Linked DNA regions of Homo sapiens: regions 2 and 3 are each linked to region 1. The links are contacts of gene promoters, found by promoter capture Hi-C in human tissues and cell types (Jung and others, 2019). All regions are on one chromosome and are shown on one strand. The core of a region is centred on a gene start or on the middle of the fragment in contact, and the rest is flanking DNA. Distances in the headings are between cores, read along the strand shown. Region 1 holds the start of FOXD1 (forkhead box D1). Region 2 has its middle 12 kb from the start of BTF3. Region 3 has its middle 9.6 kb from the start of LINC01386.

What was found. Contacts are between HindIII fragments. The study calls those that stand out against the background at their distance.
Region 2: a fragment that was not itself captured here is called in contact with the fragment with the promoter of FOXD1 in region 1 in 2 of the 25 tissues and cell types used here (IMR-90 fibroblasts and thymus).
Region 3: a contact is called between a fragment that was not itself captured here and the fragment with the promoter of FOXD1 in region 1, in 4 of the 25 tissues and cell types used here (H1 embryonic stem cells, hippocampus, mesenchymal stem cells and 1 more).

What each region holds. Positions count from the first base shown.
Region 1 is chr5:73,447,246-73,450,166 of GRCh38, reverse strand. FOXD1 (forkhead box D1) reads left to right here and starts at 1,390. Exons shown (of 1, transcript NM_004472.3): 1 at 1,390-2,921. The coding sequence starts at 1,805. The HindIII fragment of the contact is 13,220 bases long and covers 1-2,921 here.
Region 2 is chr5:73,508,754-73,511,674 of GRCh38, reverse strand. It overlaps the pseudogene FUNDC2P1. Among named protein-coding and RNA genes, the nearest start is that of BTF3, 12 kb to the right of the region's middle. The HindIII fragment of the contact is 4,146 bases long and covers 1-2,921 here.
Region 3 is chr5:73,481,095-73,484,015 of GRCh38, reverse strand. No RefSeq gene overlaps it. Among named protein-coding and RNA genes, the nearest start is that of LINC01386, 9.6 kb to the right of the region's middle. The HindIII fragment of the contact is 5,309 bases long and covers 1-2,921 here.

The DNA of each region.
Region 1 (2,921 bases), core at 141-2,640:
GCACAAATAAGTGAATGTGAATTCAACAAACTATTAGGATTTTTCCACTAGCCAAAATAGCTCGTTTGAGTTGGTGATAAAGATAGGTATATTTAAAAGAGCATCATATCTTAATTATTTCCACTATCTTGTCACCCGAAAAGAAAACTGAATTGAGCGGAACTTTAATCTCATAAAAAAAATTTTCATCTCACCAGAAAGGATTAACAATATTTAAGGATTTTCCAAAAACACATTTTTAAAAAGTTTATCTTAAAGTCATCTATCATTATAGTTTCTATTAATAAGCCTCAGTAGAAATATGTATATGTTATGTAATTTAAGTATTTTGAGATTACTATGCAAAGTGCTGACTAGAATGTTCCTCCTACTGAGAACTATATAGCCCCATTATGAACGAACTTCTGTTTTTTTTTTTTTTTTTTGAGGCGGAGTTTCGCTCTTGTTGCCCAGGCTGGAGTGCAGTGGCACGATCTCGGCTCACTGCAACCTCCGCATCCCGGGTCCAAGCGATTCTCCTGCCTCGGCCTCCCGAGTAGCTGGGATTACAGGCGCCGCCTACTAATTTTTTTCTATTTTTAGTAGAGACGGGGTTTCACCATGTTGGCCAGGCTGGTCGAACTTTTTAGTAGTTTCTAGGTGCAATTTTTGTGCGTGTATTTGGGTTTTCACTAAAAATTTCAATTTCTTCTCCGAATTCAATTATTACGTTCTTTATTCCCATGACATTTGTCAGATCGTCTCATTAGAGTGGCTTAGTTTAACTGTCAAGTCTCTAGGGCATTCAATCGCAGAGAAGTGAGTAAAACGCCAGTCTCACAGCGTTTTTATTAACAGATGGCGGAAAACAAACGTCTTTGGAGTAAAACCGAAGAGAATGGGTTAAAGGGTCAATAAACAATTATTATCGTGCTTAAATTGGGGGGCTTCGCATCAGATCCAATGGGGGGCCGCTCGCCCGATCTGGAGGGGCTGGACACCCCCAACCGACCCCAGAGCGTCCCCCAGGGGCCACCTCAGAGGATGGGGTGGTTATCCCCCGGCTGGAAGGCTCCTACAGGCTGTCGAGGGGTCAAACCAGAGTGTCGCGGGTGTGCTTCTGAGGTTAGGGTGGAGGACTAATTGAGGAGGCTGGGAAGTCTAACTCGTGCAGCGGCCCTCGGTGCAGACAGCCGCGTAATTCGGGCATCAGCCTCTTTGGCAAGAAATAGTGAGGTCCCCTCTCCTCCCCACTCTTCTCAGCTGCTGCCTCCCTCCTACGGGTGAATTTTCTCTCCCGAGAAGGGCTGATTTCCTAGGCTTGCTTTCCTTCCCTCGGCAGCGCTCTGACGTGCACACCATGTGACAGGCCCCCTTCTGCTATAAGCCGAGGAAGGTCCGCCCTCTCCTGGACTCAGCCCTGGCCTCGCCGAGCTCTGTTCTTAGACTCTCACCCGTCCCGCACGTTCCTGGGCGCCTGGCGTTCTGATTCGCCCGCCCGGGCCCCGCCACCCCCTCCTCAGCTGACGGGGCAAAAGCTGCTCCGAGAGGAGAAGGTCAAGTCCTCCGCCCGGGCCGGGCGCGAGCGGAGCCCAGGGAGCGCAGCATCCGCGCGGCTACCGCGGCGGCGCAGGAGTTATAAAGTCGGCGCGCGAGACTCCGCCGCCACCCGGCAGCCCCGGCGCAGCTCCGGCAGCCGCAGTCGCAGCGCCCCCAGCGTGGCGCCCCCCGGCCGGGCCTGCCGCCCGGGACCCGGGCTGGGGCGCAGAGGGAGCCCGGAGCCCGGCGCCCCCATGCGCCGCCCCGCCGCCGCCGCGCCACAGCTATGACCCTGAGCACTGAGATGTCCGATGCCTCTGGCCTCGCCGAGGAAACAGACATCGACGTGGTGGGGGAGGGCGAGGACGAAGAAGACGAGGAAGAGGAGGACGACGACGAGGGCGGCGGTGGCGGGCCCCGGCTGGCTGTCCCCGCGCAGCGGCGGCGGCGGCGGCGCTCGTACGCCGGGGAGGACGAGCTGGAGGATCTGGAGGAGGAGGAGGACGACGATGACATCCTGCTGGCCCCGCCTGCTGGGGGCTCCCCGGCGCCCCCGGGCCCGGCCCCGGCGGCGGGGGCAGGAGCCGGTGGGGGCGGCGGCGGCGGCGGCGCGGGCGGCGGCGGGAGCGCGGGTAGCGGCGCCAAGAACCCGCTGGTGAAGCCGCCCTACTCGTATATCGCGCTCATCACTATGGCCATCCTGCAGAGCCCCAAGAAGCGGCTGACGCTGAGCGAGATCTGTGAGTTCATCAGCGGCCGCTTCCCCTACTACCGGGAGAAGTTCCCCGCCTGGCAGAACAGCATCCGCCACAACCTCTCGCTCAACGACTGCTTCGTCAAGATCCCCCGCGAGCCCGGCAACCCGGGCAAGGGCAACTACTGGACGCTGGACCCGGAGTCCGCCGACATGTTCGACAACGGCAGCTTCCTGCGCCGGAGGAAGCGCTTCAAGCGGCAGCCGCTGCTCCCACCCAACGCCGCGGCCGCCGAGTCTCTGCTGCTGCGCGGCGCGGGAGCCGCAGGGGGCGCGGGCGACCCGGCAGCCGCCGCCGCGCTCTTCCCGCCCGCGCCCCCGCCGCCCCCGCATGCCTACGGCTACGGCCCCTACGGCTGCGGCTACGGCCTGCAGCTGCCGCCTTACGCGCCGCCCTCGGCCCTCTTCGCCGCCGCAGCGGCCGCCGCCGCCGCCGCCGCCTTCCACCCGCACTCGCCCCCGCCGCCCCCGCCACCGCACGGCGCGGCCGCCGAGCTGGCCCGGACCGCCTTCGGCTACCGGCCGCACCCGCTCGGCGCCGCCCTACCCGGCCCCCTGCCGGCCTCCGCGGCCAAGGCGGGCGGCCCGGGCGCCTCAGCGCTGGCGCGCTCGCCCTTCTCCATCGAGAGCATCATCGGGGGCAGCTTGG
Region 2 (2,921 bases), core at 251-2,750, 61 kb before region 1:
AATTTTTATAGCACTTGAAATTTTTAAAAATACCTTTCACATTATTTTGACTACCTCCCATTCATTTTTTGAATGGGTAGACTAATTACATTTAAACAATAATATCAGTTTAACTCATAGTATCCCCATGAAGTCAGCATAGAGAGTTACCCTTGCTCTCATTTCTAGCTAAGAAAATAATGGAGGGGGCTATATAACCAGCCCATGGTAAAGCTCAAGCCAGAGCCTATGCCTATGGACCCTCTCCCAGGCACCTTCCAGTACTTCTCCAGCAGTGGTGAGTGTATGCTTGTTTGCCCACATACAGTAGTATTACAAAAAAGAATGAGGGAGAATAAGAAAGAAAAGAGGGAGGAGAAATAATGGGCAAAAGAACAATGGTTACAGCTAAAGCTTCAGTCAAAAAAAGAACGATGGTAAGAAGCAGAAGAGGGAAGAGGGGCATGTTGTTATTAAAGCTGATGTTCATGGTCACGAATGCATGTGTCAACATTTAATACTTGTCTTATAAATCTTCCAGATTTAGGCCAGGCGCAGTGGTTCATGCCTGTAATCCCTGCAATTTGGGAGGCTGAGGCGGGAGGATCACTTGAGGTCAGGAGTTCAAGACCAGCCTGGCCAACATGGGGAAGTCCCGTCTCTAATAAAAATACAAAAATTAGCCGGGTGTGGTGACAGGTGCCTGTAATCCCAGCTACTAGGGAGGCTGAGGCAGGATAATCGCTTGAACCCAGGAGGCAGAGGTTGCAGTGAGCTGAGATGGCGCCACTGCACGCCAGCCTAGAGCGAAACTCCGTCTCGAAATAAATAAATAAATAAATATTTTCCAGATTTACCACATCGACAATGTAAGACAGCTTCACAGCAACTGGGCTTCTTGTGCGAGGACCTCAGCACTTGCTTGCCACCCTCCCAGCTGTGTAATGGCAAGTTGGATTGCAGTCAAGGGGAAGACGAACCTGCTACCCACTCTAGTAAGGCAGACAAGTAACCAAAATTTAAAAACAGTCACCAGCAACTAATCACTAAAATTCAGAATTATATGAAAACATTATTGTACGTGAATGCTTTCTATTAGAATTAATGCTTTTGTCTAATATAGGTCAAATGCCCAACAGTCTCCCACAAAACTTGATATTCAAGTGTCCCAACCAGAAGACTTGGACATATATGGACAAGGTGTGTGACACAAGAAATGACTGTGGTGATTGCTCAGATAAATCAGGTAAAAATGAAAATGTCATTAATTTTTTAATGGCTTCTTGGAGTGGCTACCCTTATACTTCAATTACATAAATTAACTCATCCTTACAAGCCTTCCTTAAGGATACATCCATGATTTTAAGATTCTGTCATTTCCAGTAGTTTGTGCATGTTTAAACTAGATGAATTCTCTAGCTAAGAATACAGCCAGTTCTGTAAGAATTACCAAAGGAAATAATCTTGACGGACAGCTCTTGTCTGCTATCAGATTCCTTCTATATTTCTTTACAAAGGTTGGTGAAGATCAAACAAAAATCTGTTGAGTGCTTTGGCTCTCAAAAATTTTTTTGTTTAACCTTTGCCATTTCCTTGCTTTTCCTCCCTCACTTTCCTCCTTCTCTCCTCCCCTCATTCTGTTCCTTACGGTAGTTTAATACTTGGCAGACACCTGATCACCCCACAATTTCATGAAAACATGGCAGAGGTGCAATTCCAATACCTCGTGGCCCCAGTTAGTAGTATCTGAAAGCCCTATCAGAAATACGCTAAATAGATAATTTCCTGCCCTTTGTCTGGTCATCGTGGAGGGTAGAAATAGAAATGCTAGGAATTACAGATAACAATGCTCTGACAAATAAAGACTAAAAGTATAAGGAGATCCTTTTCTTCTTGCTAGCTGCCAATTAGCAGTGATTCTTTTCCCTGCTGATTGAACATACAAACTCAAAGGGACCCTTTCTTTCTTTCTTTTTTTTTTTTCATGCTTAAAGGCAAATGTATTCAGTTCCTTTCCATGCAGCACACAATAAGGTTATCTATGTGCTTATTTCTTTTCCAAATCAACAGTTTGGGACAACCTTTCAGGATCCACTCATCCTCCACGGTCAGCCATCTTGCAATGTGTTCTCATAAGTGTCTTGCATGGGGGTAAAGGAACCTTCTTGTTGACCTACAGACTGACCTTCTTGTTGACCTACAGACTGACCAAGTAGGGGGTGTACTGGGAGGAGAGCTAAGGACTATTGTCTCTTCTGCCACCATCAAGCTCATGGTGCCACATTAATTTGTACCAGCAGAAGCTTATAGAAGCCACTCAGATTTGCCATGGCAGGCAGGAAGGCATGGGAGAAGGAGAGGAGGGACTCGATGTCCTACGATGGAGTGTAGAGGCTGCTGGCTGGAAAAAACCAGGAACAATGAACATGAGGTCATCTTCCTTAGGATGCCATGCCAAGCAGAAAGCCTCCGAAAAATCCCCCAGTCACTAGAACATTCTTCTTCACAAATGACACCACCTCCTCAGCTTTGCTCCTGACCTCAGTAGGTATCTGATTGCTCTTACGGATCTTCAGCTGCTCTTTGGCTTTCTTCATGTCCTTCTCCACTCGTTGCCAGTCAACTTTGATATACCCAGTATGGTTTGCAAGCTGAAGGAGAGAAAATCCACCTCCCACAGCTGTTGCAGCCAACTTTCCAACCTTCTGGAATATGAAACCCATGCACCATCCAGTGACACCTCCAATGAACAGCTGGGTTGCCATGCTATACTTTTCTGCTGAAGGTCCAGATTCCTGCCCGAACAGCTTACGCCACCATGGCTGCTTCTTAGCAAATTCCGTAAGGTCCAGTGACTCAAAATTTCCCTCAATGTTTCCTTGACTGGACGCGGCCATTTCGGTGAGCTTGTCTCGCGAGGACACACGTAGAGGATCTGCGCG
Region 3 (2,921 bases), core at 150-2,649, 34 kb before region 1:
CATATTGGTTCCCTGACCTATAGAACGGGGGCTATTATGGTGAGAAATGGCAGATGGAAGCCACTAGAATTGCCTCTCCCTAGGACAATAGCAAACCAAAAGCAACACTGCATTCCTGGAATGATTGCAGAGGTTAGTGCCACCAGCAAGGACTTAAAAGGATGTGGGGGTGTGATTTCCACTACATCCCTATTCAACTCACCTATTTGGTCTGTGCAGAAGACAGACGGATCTTGGAGAATGACAGTGGATTACTGAAAGTTTAACCGGGTGATGACTCCAATTGCAGCTGCTTTACCAGATATGGTTTCGTTGTTTGAGCAAATTAACTCAATCTCTGGTACCTGGTATGCAGCTATCAATCTGGTGCATATTTTTTCTCCATACCTGTTAGTAAAGACCATCAGAAGCATTTTGATTTCAGCTGGCAAGGCCAGCAATACACTGCCACTGTCCTTCTCAGGAGTCTATCAGCTCTCCAACACTATGTCATAATTTAGTTCACAGGGATCTTGCTCACCTTTTTTTTCCACAAGCTATAACAGTGGTCCATTGCATTGATGACATTATGCTGATTGGACTTAGTGAGGAAGAAGTAGCAGCTACTCCCTAGACTTATGGGTAAGATATTTGGATGCCAGAGGGTGGGAAATAAATTTGACAAAACTTCAGGTGCCTCCTACGTCTGTAAAATTTCTAGGGGTCCAGTGGTGTGGAGCATGTCGAGACATCCCTTCTAAGGTGAAGGAAAAGTTGTTGCATCTAGCCCCCTCCTACAACCAAGAAAGAGACACAATGCCTAGTGGGCCTCTTTGAATTTTGGAGGCAACATATTCTTCATTTGTGTGTGCTACTTGGCACGTTTACTGAGTGAGCTGAAAAGCTGCTATTTTTGAGTGATGTGCAGACGAGAGAAGGCTCTGCAACAGGTCCAGGCTGCTGTGCTAGCTGCTCTGCCACTTGAGCCATGTAATACAGCAGATCCAATTGTGCTTGAAGTGTCTGCAGAGAGAGATGCTGTTTGGAGCCTTTGGCAGGCCCCTACAGATGAGTCACTACACAAACCCTTTGGATTTTGAAGCAAAGCCCTGTCATCTTCTGCAGATAACTACTCTCCTTTTAAGAAATATCTCTTGATCTGCTACTGGGCCTTACTAGAGACTGAATGCTAAACCATGGGCCACCAGGTTACCATGCAACCTGAGCTGCTTATCATAAGCTGGGTGTAATCTGACCCATCAGGCCATAAAGTCGGGTATGGAGAGCAAGAGCCCATCATCAAATAGAAGTGGCGTATACATGATCATGTTTGAGTAGGCCTTCAAAGCACAAGTAAGCTACATGAAGTGGCCCAAATGACCATGGCCCCCACTTCTATTATATCATTTTATCTCTCCCAGCCTGCATCTATGGCTTAATGGGGAGTTTCCCACAAGTTGACAGTTCACAGACAAAGAGAAGACTTGGGCCTGGTTTACAGATGGTTCTGCACGATATGCAGGCACCACCTTAAAGTGGACAGCTGCAGCACTACAGCCCCTTTCCAGAACTTCTCTGAAGGACAGTGATGAAGAAAAATCCTCCCAGTGGGCAGAACTTTGAGAAGTGTACCTGGTTGTTCACTTTGCTTGGAAAGATACATGGCCAGATATGTGATATATACCAATTCATGGACCACGGCCAGTGGTTTGGCTGGGTGATCAGGGACTTGGAAGGAACGTGATTAGAAAATTGAAGGACAAGAAAATTTGGGAAAGAAGTATATAGATAGATCTCTCTGAATTAGCACAAAAAAAATGGAAGATTTTTATGTCTCATGTGAATTCTCAACAAAGTGTGACCTCAGCAGAGTAGGGTTTTAATAATCAAGTGCATAAGATGACCCAGTCTGTGGATCCCAGTCCGCCTCTTTCCCAGCCACCTTGTCATTGCCCAGTGGGCTCATGAACAAGGTGACCGTAATGGCAGGGATGGAGGTTATGCATAGGCTCAGCAACATAAACTTCCACTCACCAAGGGCATCCTAGCTATGGCCACTGCTGAATGCCCACTGTGCCAGCAGCAGAGACCAATACTGAATCCTCAATATGGCACCATTTCCTGGAGTGATCAGCCAGCTATCTGGTGGCAGGTTGATTACACTGGATCACTTCCATCATGGAAGTGGCAGCATTTTGTTCTTACAGGAATAGACACTCTGGATATGGATTTGCCTTTCCTGCATGCAATGGTGTGATCTTGGTTCATGCAGCCTCCACCTCCAGGGCTGAAGTGATCCTCCCACCTCAGTGTCCAAAGTAGCTGGGACTGTAGGTGAACACCACCACACCTGACTAATTTGTTAAATTATCTGTAGAGAAGGGGTCTCCCTATGTTGTTCAGGCTGGACTCGAACTCCTGGTCTTAAGTGATCTTCCCACCTCAGCCCCCCAAAGTGCTGGAATTACAAGATTGAGCCACTGTGCCTGGCCTCACACAGCATTGCTTCTAAACAAGGAACCCCCCTCACAGCAAAAGAAGTGTGGCAATAGGCCCATGCTTGTGGAATTCACTGTTTTTACCGTGTTTCTCACCAGTCTGAAGCAGCTGGTTTGATAGAATTGTAGAATGACCTTTGGAAGATTGAGTTACAGCACTAGCTAGGTGGTGATACCTTGCAGGGCTTGGGCAAGGTTCTCTGGAAGGCTGTATATGCTCTGAACCAGCATCTAATAGCTGGTGGTGTTTCTCCTCTAGCTAGGATTCATAGGTCCAGGAATCATGGTGTAGAAATGGGAGTGGCATTACTCAGTATTAAGCCCGATAATCCACTAGCAACATTTTTGCTTCTTGTTCCTGTGACTTTATGCTCTCCTGGTCTAGAGGTCTTAGTTCCAGAGGGAGGAATGTTTCCACCAAGAGAAACAACGATTCCACTGAAC